Regions from separate parts of the Homo sapiens genome. Here region 1 is linked to region 2. The links are contacts of gene promoters, found by promoter capture Hi-C in blood cells and fetal thymus (Javierre and others, 2016). All regions are on one chromosome and are shown on one strand. Each heading gives the region's core, a stretch centred on a gene start or on the middle of the fragment in contact. The rest is flanking DNA. Distances are from core to core; before and after follow the strand shown.

The links. The method cuts DNA at HindIII sites, captures the fragments that hold promoters and counts their contacts. A CHiCAGO score of 5 or more calls a contact.
Region 1: a contact is called between a fragment that was not itself captured here and the fragment with the promoter of NOG in region 2, in 1 of 17 cell types (naive CD4 T cells). The highest score is 5.2, in naive CD4 T cells.

What each region holds. Positions count from the first base shown.
Region 1 is chr17:56,655,877-56,661,537 of GRCh38, forward strand. No RefSeq gene overlaps it. Among named protein-coding and RNA genes, the nearest start is that of NOG, 65 kb to the left of the region's middle. The HindIII fragment of the contact is 5,498 bases long and covers 1,022-5,661 here.
Region 2 is chr17:56,591,947-56,597,244 of GRCh38, forward strand. It overlaps NOG (noggin), which reads left to right and starts at 1,753. Exons shown (of 1, transcript NM_005450.6): 1 at 1,753-3,665. The coding sequence starts at 2,278. The coding sequence ends at 2,976. RefSeq lists silencers at 606-815, 3,928-4,128. The HindIII fragment of the contact is 13,259 bases long and covers 1-5,298 here.

The sequences.
Region 1 (5,661 bases), core at 2,521-5,020, 66 kb after region 2:
CAGAGAAGTAGTTCTCTGTCCCACTTACTGTTGCTGCATAACACATCTCCCCAAGCTCAGTGGTATATATAGCTTTTTAAAAATACCAATGGTTTTGTTATGTCCAGGGATTCTCTCTAAGTCAGAAGTTTTTAAAGGACACATAGAGTAAATGACTCTTTTTCATGTCTCTAGGGTCTCAGCCGAAAAGATTCATGTTGGAGCTGACTTGAAGGCTGGCAGGTGGAATCATCTTAAAGCGTATCTGGTAGGTAATGCTGGCTGTAGACTGGGACTTCAGCAGTGGATGTCAGCAGGAACACCTACACATGGCCTTTCCATGTGGCTGCTTGGGCTTCCTCACATCATGGTGCCTGGATCCCAGGAGTTAGCCTTCCAAAAGAGCCAAGCCTTGAGTCACATGCCATCATTTCTGCTATAGTCACAACCCATCCATTTTATGCTGGGTCACAAGTGGTCTTTGGGCCACTGATACCACGAAGAGTGTTCTTCTCTCTTTTCACAGCTCCCACCCCCAGAGGACTGTGGAACTTATTTCATGGGAACCAGGCCAGAGTATCACTAGCACTCCCCAAACTTGTTCCTAAGTCATTTACACATCAAGTTATGACATCTTCTCCCACCAAACTGTTCCCATTCCCCACATCCAGTACAAAGTCTTAGGAGGACAAGGTAACCCTTTTTTATCACTATCTAAGAAGTCTTAGTCCAAAAGCTCATTATCAGCCCCAAAATGTTAAGGCACATAAGCCTTTCCCATTAAGACAAAACAAAACAAAGCAAAACCCTAGTAGACTCACCTGGCCACCCCTCTGGTGTATACCAGATATATATGAATTGGCTGAAGCCCAGGCCTGCACAAGTGAAGTCAAGTGAGGAGGAAAGTCTTTGAGGATGTGGCTACATAAAACCCTAAAGATGGCTTTAGTGCATAGCACCCTGGGAATCTCAAATTGGAAAGAAGTTGTTTGACATATAGAAGTAGGCCCCATTTGAAGAAAATCCAGTTGGCAATAATCCAAGCTTTTAACCACAAATTTTTTAAATGCAGGGGTGACTTCCTCACTTTCTATCAAAAATGATGCTTTTATTAAAGGAACTTCCTTGAAGGATTTAAGTGTTGGTTTATAAATTGGCAGCAACTAAGAGGCAGAAAAATATAAAACTAAGAATTGGGCTCACAGCCAATCAAGGACGAATCACAAATCAAGACTAACTTCTGAAGCTAAACACCCAGCATTGTGGAAGTGGGATTAGCTTTACACACATGCGCGTACGCTTTAAATGACAAACCGGGAACCCATTCATTATGTAAAGTCAAGCATTCCTATGATGTGGACCTGGCACTGCATCCCAGGCCTGCTGAGTAACATGAACAAATGCAAAGAAGCAGTAGGACAAGGACAGCATGTTTATGGAAAGTGGAGGGAATGAACATGCCTAGGGAAGAGACTCTTGTGTCAGGAAGCAGGTGAACATAAAGTTGGCCAGGTAGGGTGGGGCCACTTTTGCAGGCCAAGATGTTTTTCCTCCAAGAGGAGCATGATCAAAGAGGAGTTTTTGGAAGATTAATCTGGTAGAAGCACCTGAGGACAGTATTGAGACAGGGACAGCAGCTATGGAGTTTTCACAGCCATGAAGCTGTGAGGGGAAGAAGGAGGAGCTGGTGGTCTCTCTCCATGAGAAAGGCATAAAGGAAAATGGCACATGTATTCAGCCAGGCTCAGATTTTACTGCAAGCCTTTTCATCTTTGGAACAATGATATTTCTAAACTATTTCCTAAGAACCATCTTTTCTGGGACTCTAAGTCCCTCTTGAACTGTCTTTCCAGCTTCTAAAACTCCACATTCTTAGGAGAGGGAGTAAGGTGGGTTAAATCCAAGGTTGTTCAAGACATAGATGAAGATTAATGGGGACTAGTAATTATTTAAACAAACCTATGGGTCCTTAAGCCTCCAAGAACAGAGTCATCTTTCAAACCTGGACTCTAAGGAGGCCATGTTCCAATGACAAATAATCAAACAATCAAGTCTTCATATTTCTTTGGGGACTACCTTCAGAGTCTTCAATATATCCATTTTAAACATAGCCATATCATATTTTAACAATATTGCTGTTGTTGTTGTTTTAAGAAATAACCACAAGCCAAATCTGGTAGAGAAAGAGATAATCACTCAAGCTAGGTAATGGCCCTTTGGGTTAAAACAAACAAATAAACAAAACAGGTGGGACTTGGAAGAAATACATTGAGACAAAGTGAGTGAGAGTGTTTTCTTATCTTTATCATCTCTGCTATATGTGTAATGATATCTCATTCTTCATTCATATTATTTATCTGCACCTTTGCTCACTTCATCTTGACCAATATTGCTAGTTTGTCTTACTTTAAAGTCTTTTCAAAGATCTAACTTGGAGGTACAGGAAATTAAAAAGTAAAGAACAACAAAAAATGCAATTGATTTCCTTGTGCAATTGTAAACTGGCTGAGAAGAAAATTTCCCCAAAAAGAAGTTGTAAAAAAGATTTTGAGTAAGAGTAGTAGTTCAATTTGGCTAACACTAAATGAAGACTCTCTGCAAAGATGTCATTGTTTTCATCAACAGGACTCGGATGCAGGTAAAAAGTAACAAGAGTCACTGCCCTCAAGGAACCTATGAACTACTGAATGGCCTCCCATGTTGGCTACATTAACAGAAATGGCATTTATGAAGTGTCTAATTAATATTTTTCATTTCCTCTTATTGTGACAGAGACATTAAATTCTCACTAAATGGCCATGGGCTCTCCTACCTTTCCCAGGTTCCCTTGCAGTTGGATTAGAACCATGTGACCATTTCTGACCAATGGAACATGGGAGAAAGTGATGTATGCAACTTCCAAACCTAGTGCTATCAGCCCCTATGTAGTCCTCCAGCTTTCTCTTTCCATGCTGCAGTGATCACGTTATACGATGACCTGGTATAGCTGTAAGACAGGAACAGCCAAGACCCTGAGTCACCACCCGGAAGAGAGGTGCTCTAGAGATTCACTTGACTCACATGGGGATGTTGTACGATAGATATAAATCTTGATATGGTTAAACCACTGAGTTTTGGGCCTTTCTTTGTTACCACAACTGAGCTGATCTTATTCTGACATTCTTGCTAAAATTCCGAAATAACCATCATAATGATTGTCAACATAGTGTGGTGGAGAAATAAAAACCTTTAGAGCAGCAACAACCTGGGTGAAGGTAATGATGCTTAAAGGTGGCTCAGCTCATCAGTCATTTGCAGTTAACAAATCTTGGAAGAGACTAATCCTCTTCCTCCTGAGAGAACAGACTTATTGCTCCTGGAGACAGGGAAAGAGAAAAGATGGCCTATCTCAGTCTTCCGGTGGACAATCTGGGAGAGTCAGATCACAGACTGCCTGAATTTTTATGCAACAGGAGTGTACCCCTTCCACCCATATGCTCTAACATATCCAGAAAGGACTTCCAAGACAATTAACTTTCTTCCTTTAAAATTATTTCTTCCTTTAAAAAACAGATATATGAATATTATTTTCTCGTTACAATATATTTATATATTTTTTAGATCAAACCAAAGAGTTGAAGGGAAGTTCCTTCCACTTTCCTAGAATAACCACACTGGGCCACCTTTCTTTATTGTTCCAGGCTGTTCTTTGCATTTATATCCATATAAAGGTACATAGTTTTGCTTTGAGTCTTCAGTGTACTTTTGGTCCTGAGGCACAAATGGGCCAAACAGCAGGTACCATTCTGCCCTGTTGTTCTTTGACTTTATGACTTGTTTCTTTTCTGACTTTTGATGTATTTCAACATGTTTGGTCAACTTAATGCCTTTTTATTGCTGCACAGCTCTCCACAGTATGGAGGTACCATAATTTATGTAATGACTTCCCCATTGGTAGACATATATAGTGTTTTGAAACTGTAATGAACATGCTTGGAATGCCCCTTTGTGTACACAAGCCAGTATTTCTCTAGGATGGATACCTGAAAAGGAACTATCTGCTTCAAAGGATTTGCATATTTTTAGTTTCAATAGAAACTGCCAAATTGCTAAAGAAAGAAGCCATACCAACTTATACTTGCATCAACAATATATAGGTTCTGATCTTTTTTTTGTTAAGAAATGTTGATGACTTATAGATTGAAGAATTTTATATTAACAGACGTGCAATATTGGCTTATTATGAGGTTGCCTCGGCACTTGCCTGATTGCAGAGAAGGATGATCCTTTATTGCCTGCCAGTAGGTTTCACCATGGTGTTCATTAGCCACAGGCCCTGGCCCCTCCCAGGAAGACCTCTTTCAATATTGACAGGGGGGGATTTTTTGTTCCTTTAGTGAGCAGTGACCTCTAGCTGTTGTGCACTGCCTTTTTGAGAGTCACAATCCCCCGGCCAGACCACCCAGAATTGTAGGCGTAATAGCAGTGGTACGTTAGGACCAGGGGAAGACGAGGGAAGAGCTCACCTTGGGGATGCCAAAAATTCAATTATCAAGATAGATATGTAGGATCAAATGCAGTATTTTTGAAAATCAAAATTAATGCAAAAAGTCCACAATTTTAATACAAAATTTCAAATAGACAGGATTGGTATTAGTGATTTTTTCAGTGGCCTCAGGCTCCAGTAGGATTCTGCAATAGTCCAGAACAACAGTCATCTGTCATTTTAAGCAGATCTGGGAGACTCGTAGACAGACAGACAGACACACACACACACACACACACACACACACACACACTTCTTAAAATCCCTGCTTGCCTGTGTGGCCTTGGGGAAATTGCTGAACCTCTCTGAGACTCAGTTTCATTATTTGTGAGTTGTCAAGGAGTTTTCAATAAGCATCCCCCACCACCTGTACTAGTGCTTGTGCTATTGTTAGGCACCAATGCAACCCTACTGGCTGCTGGTTCTTCTATGATCCTTGAGCCTGGTTTGGCCTCTTACCTATTTCCTGGTGACCAAGTGACCCCTTTATAGACTGGAGATTGTTAATAGGAGGGAATGAATATTTACTGGGACTTTTTTTAAACTACACTGTGGGATGGGTACTTCCATGCATTATCTCAGTTAATCTGCATAGCAACCCTTCAGATATATAGATGAGAAAACTCAAGTTCAGAGAAGTTAAATGACTTGCCCTCAGTCACAGAGCAAGCCAGTGGCTGAGCGGGGCTCTGGAACCAGATCTTGTATATGTAAGTATATAGTCTAACGTTTACTTCTCTCTGGGCTGTGTCAGTAGAAGCAAGAGAAAAGAGCCTGCTACATCTGAATACAGACCTCAAGGGCAAATGCTCCCTCCCAACTGTGTATCCGAATTAAAAACAGCAAGTTTTGTTCCTGACTCAGCCCAAACCTACTACCTTCAGAGGTGCTTGTTTCTCTTGTCCAAACCCCAGGATGCCTGTGATTTCCTCTCCTAAAGCAGATGACCGTTGGCCCAGCCTCTCCTCACTGCCTCCCACCTCCCCAACCCCACACCACTCACTCCACCCAGATGACACCCCCTTATCCCTCCTGACATCAAGGTGGACAGTAAAACAACACAGTTCCATTTACCTTCACCCTAGCCCGCCCCCGGCTCAGTCACCCCACTCTCTGGGCCTTTCTGCCAAGCTCTCCAGGCAGCCACATGCACAAGA
Region 2 (5,298 bases), core at 503-3,002:
TTTAGGTTGTCACAATGGGACCTCTTAACTCCCACTCCATGGAAGACTGGCAAATACTTGAGTCATCCACTCCAAGTCTCTCTTCTCCAGCTTTTTCCAGATTCCAATCACATTCACCACAAAGAAAACTGAGTTTGCATTTTAAAGCTGAGATTGAGTTCCTCGTCCAAGGGGAAATTAACCGGAGGTGTCCCTTCAGTACCCATCTCCCATCAAAGAGAAACTGCTTCTGAACAAGAGAAAGCATCGTGGAGGTTTATTTAAAATCACAGAAAGGTAGGGCTGGAAGAGAAATCTATTAATAGTTACGTCACTAATGCGAAAAGTGAGAAAAATGACTTGTCCGAGTTATATCAGGGTGGACCCCGGGCAAGACTCAGGTGCCTCTGCTGTCAGCTCACCTTTCAAGTTTCTGGTCCCCACTCGCACCCACTGAGACCAGAGACCGATTTACCTGAGGCAGAAGGTGCTGCACGCATTCTTGTGAAATTTGAGGGGACCGAGAAGGAATCTCAGGAAGTTTGTTTACACTGGGGGCCTGGAGACCTTCGGGAAAATAGCCAGAACCAAAACGGACCAGTCAGCAGACGCAGACACACACAAAGTGACAGGGACACAGAAGCAGAAGCTGAACTGGGCAGAGCGGGCAGCGGCCGACCCACCTCGCACGGCCGCCCCCGCCAGCGCCAGGTGCAGGGCTCATAGCGGGCCAGCAGAGGGCGCGCCGCCCCCAGGGAGCCGAGCGGCGGCCGCGCGGAGCCGGGCGGGCTAGGGGAGCCGCAGGCGAGCCAGTCGCGCCCCTGAGGCTAGGCCACTCAGGGTGCAGGACCCGGCCAAGGAGGAGGAGGATGGTGAGGAGCGGAACCCCCTCGTGGGCCCGAGGGGCAGACAGACAGGAGTGCTTCCTAAGAATTACATCACGCTGCGCAACGCTGCGGCTCTCGGACTCCCTGGTGCAAAGGGGGGTGGGGTAGGGGCTGTGTGTGTGTGTGTGTGTGTGTGTGTATATATGTGTGTTGGGGGGAGGGGACTTAGAGCAAGAGCCCGGGAGAGAAGAAGACGCGCTCGGGGAAAACGCTCCATGCACATGGAGAAATTTCTTGCTCCGAACTGCATGCACCGAGAAACGAGCCCCCAGCACTTCCCCGCTGCTCCCCTCCCAGTGCAAAGCACCCAGCTAGTGAGAAACCCTCCAGCCCCACCTCAAGCACCGCCCCCCCTCCCCAAACACCGGCTCTGCACCCTCCAGCCCGGCTCCAGCGCCGCCGCGAGCTTTCCCCAGGACTGGCCCTGGCGGGGCGCCTAGAGCCCCAGTTGCATTGCTCCAGGAGAAAGGAGGGGGGCGGTGCATTTTGCAGGAGGAGGAGAAGGGGGGTGGGTGGTGGGGGAGAGAGAAAATTGCGCGGAGACCTGCCAAGCGCCACCGCCGCCGCCACCGCCGCTGCCGCCGCCGCCGCCGCCGCCTGTGAGCTCCGGCGGGCAGCCGGACTGTCGGCTTCCCGGGGCATCTGGGTCCGGCGGGGCACAGCCCTGGGCGCTGCCGAAGCCGCCGCCGCCGCCTCCGCGGCGAGTACAGGCGGCTTCCCCCGGAGCCTGTGCAGCTCCAGCTCCTCGGGGGTGGAGAAGTGGGGGGTGGGGTTGTTGTTTGGGGGGAAGAAGGGGGAGGGGGCAACGCCGAGAGAGTCAGTGGTTTCCATGGTGATGGAGCTGAAAGTGCAGGAAATTTAAAGGCTTGGACCCTGCGAGACAGACAAACCGGTGCCAACGTGCGCGGACGCCGCCGCCGCCGCCGCCGCTGGAGTCCGCCGGGCAGAGCCGGCCGCGGAGCCCGGAGCAGGCGGAGGGAAGTGCCCCTAGAACCAGCTCAGCCAGCGGCGCTTGCACAGAGCGGCCGGACGAAGAGCAGCGAGAGGAGGAGGGGAGAGCGGCTCGTCCACGCGCCCTGCGCCGCCGCCGGCCCGGGAAGGCAGCGAGGAGCCGGCGCCTCCCGCGCCCCGCGGTCGCCCTGGAGTAATTTCGGATGCCCAGCCGCGGCCGCCTTCCCCAGTAGACCCGGGAGAGGAGTTGCGGCCAACTTGTGTGCCTTTCTTCCGCCCCGGTGGGAGCCGGCGCTGCGCGAAGGGCTCTCCCGGCGGCTCATGCTGCCGGCCCTGCGCCTGCCCAGCCTCGGGTGAGCCGCCTCCGGAGAGACGGGGGAGCGCGGCGGCGCCGCGGGCTCGGCGTGCTCTCCTCCGGGGACGCGGGACGAAGCAGCAGCCCCGGGCGCGCGCCAGAGGCATGGAGCGCTGCCCCAGCCTAGGGGTCACCCTCTACGCCCTGGTGGTGGTCCTGGGGCTGCGGGCGACACCGGCCGGCGGCCAGCACTATCTCCACATCCGCCCGGCACCCAGCGACAACCTGCCCCTGGTGGACCTCATCGAACACCCAGACCCTATCTTTGACCCCAAGGAAAAGGATCTGAACGAGACGCTGCTGCGCTCGCTGCTCGGGGGCCACTACGACCCAGGCTTCATGGCCACCTCGCCCCCCGAGGACCGGCCCGGCGGGGGCGGGGGTGCAGCTGGGGGCGCGGAGGACCTGGCGGAGCTGGACCAGCTGCTGCGGCAGCGGCCGTCGGGGGCCATGCCGAGCGAGATCAAAGGGCTAGAGTTCTCCGAGGGCTTGGCCCAGGGCAAGAAGCAGCGCCTAAGCAAGAAGCTGCGGAGGAAGTTACAGATGTGGCTGTGGTCGCAGACATTCTGCCCCGTGCTGTACGCGTGGAACGACCTGGGCAGCCGCTTTTGGCCGCGCTACGTGAAGGTGGGCAGCTGCTTCAGTAAGCGCTCGTGCTCCGTGCCCGAGGGCATGGTGTGCAAGCCGTCCAAGTCCGTGCACCTCACGGTGCTGCGGTGGCGCTGTCAGCGGCGCGGGGGCCAGCGCTGCGGCTGGATTCCCATCCAGTACCCCATCATTTCCGAGTGCAAGTGCTCGTGCTAGAACTCGGGGGCCCCCTGCCCGCACCCGGACACTTGATCGATCCCCACCGACGCCCCCTGCACCGCCTCCAACCAGTTCCACCACCCTCTAGCGAGGGTTTTCAATGAACTTTTTTTTTTTTTTTTTTTTTTTTTTCTGGGCTACAGAGACCTAGCTTTCTGGTTCCTGTAATGCACTGTTTAACTGTGTAGGAATGTATATGTGTGTGTATATACGGTCCCAGTTTTAATTTACTTATTAAAAGGTCAGTATTATACGTTAAAAGTTACCGGCTTCTACTGTATTTTTAAAAAAAAGTAAGCAAAAGAAAAAAAAAAGAACAGAGAAAAGAGAGACTTATTCTGGTTGTTGCTAATAATGTTAACCTGCTATTTATATTCCAGTGCCCTTCGCATGGCGAAGCAGGGGGGAAAAGTTATTTTTTTCTTGAAGTACAAAGAGACGGGGGAACTTTTGTAGAGGACTTTTTAAAAGCTATTTTCCATTCTTCGGAAAGTGTTTTGGTTTTCCTTGGACCTCGAAGAAGCTATAGAGTTCAATGTTATTTTACAGTTATTGTAAATATAGAGAACAAATGGAATGACTAATCATTGTAAATTAAGAGTATCTGCTATTTATTCTTTATAATATCCCGTGTAGTAAATGAGAAAGAAGTGCAGAGCAGGATTAAAGAAAACCACTAAAACCGACTGCGCTCCACACTGATTTTCTGTGTTGGTGATTGATGGGGGTGGGAGGGCGTGGGAGGGGGCGGGTAGGGGATGCTGCTGTGCCTCCTACCCCGTTGGGGAAGGGGCTCATCCCCTCGGACTCCCCTCCTGTGGTATGATGGAGGTGACTTAGTTTTTTGAGGGCGTTGGGGGGGGGGGCGATATTCTCTAACCCCTCACTAAAACATCACGTGGCCTCCGCCTAGTCTCCTAGCTTTTCCCCCTATGTCACCAAAGCTCGGGCCTGTAGTGACCTCGACACCCAGCCGGCCCCCTGGAGCTGACCCCAGGCTGGGCCGAGGGGCGGGGGGAGGGTGGGCGGCCGCTTTGTCCTGCCTGACAGGCCCTTCACAATGGGGACACGTGTCTTTCACACCTACCCTGGGGGCGGAGTGCCGCTGAAACTTGACCCCCGAGGAATGGGGAGGGGGGGAGATCAGAGCGCGCCCACCCAGATCCCGCCACCCCTCCCGCCTCGTACCCCCCACCTCAATATCCAGCCCATGTTAACCCTTTGCATGCCCGGAAGCTACGGTGGTACGAACTGAGGCAATCCCTTGGAATCAACAAGGCTCACAGCCTCCGGGATCTTGCAGGTCCGAGCCCCGAAATCCCAGGCCCTCGGCCGGAGGTGCTGGGGATATCAGGGAGATTTGACACTGGCCTCCCCTCTCCCCGGGGACCTAAGGAAGACTAAGGGCCATGGTTTCGGAGGGGTCCGAATCTGGGTGAAAATCACCACCTCTGGCATCTGCTTTTGGGAAGAGAGTATGCCTGTGCTCGGGCACTTTCTCCCCTTGAGGGGTGGGGAGGAGGGAGAAATCGGAACCGGAATCTTTGCGCTTTAAGATTAGATAGGGGCAGAAGGCACGTAACCCATTAAAGGGACGTGCAAAACATCACTCCCACCCCACCCCTTAAAAAGCCAACTCCTTGGGACCGACGCCTGACTCTCGCATGCGTCCCTCCGCCTCAGTCCCCAGTGGCGCCCGTCCTCACAGCTCCACGTGGGCCAGCCTCCTGACACTGCTCAGCGCTCTCTTTATTTATCTTGGACTCCAAAGTCGCTCTCCTTTGCTCCCTCCCCACCTCCCTGCCACCTCTCCGCGCCTCCCTCCCGGCGTTCCTTCCACCCCACCCCCCACCCCCCCCAACCCCCCAAGTCCGGAGTCCCGGCGAATCTATGCTAATTATTTCAAACCTGCGCCTGGTCCCCAGCGCAGTCTCAATGCCCCCGGCCCCGCCCGCCCTGTCCCTCCAGCCCGGCGCTTTCTTCCCTCCCGACGCAGCCTCGATGGCTCCTCATTTCAATAGCCTGGCCCCGGAGCCGAGCCCCCTCCCCGGCGCTGCCTCCGTCAGCCGTGGGACAGACGTTAGGGTATTCATTAACTGAGAGCCGAGGAATAACGGCATTATTCCCCCCAGAGAGGGCACCCTGCCCCCGCGACTATCTGAGGCTTCATTGTAAAAGGATTAAAAGTTAAAGACCTCCATCTTATGATTCTTTCATTTAATCTTCCTGGCGCCTGGGAGACATGCTCGATGGATGATGGCTTTTAAAATATTCCTAATGTCGGCTACCTTAAGACTCCAAGCTGGGCAAACAAACGTA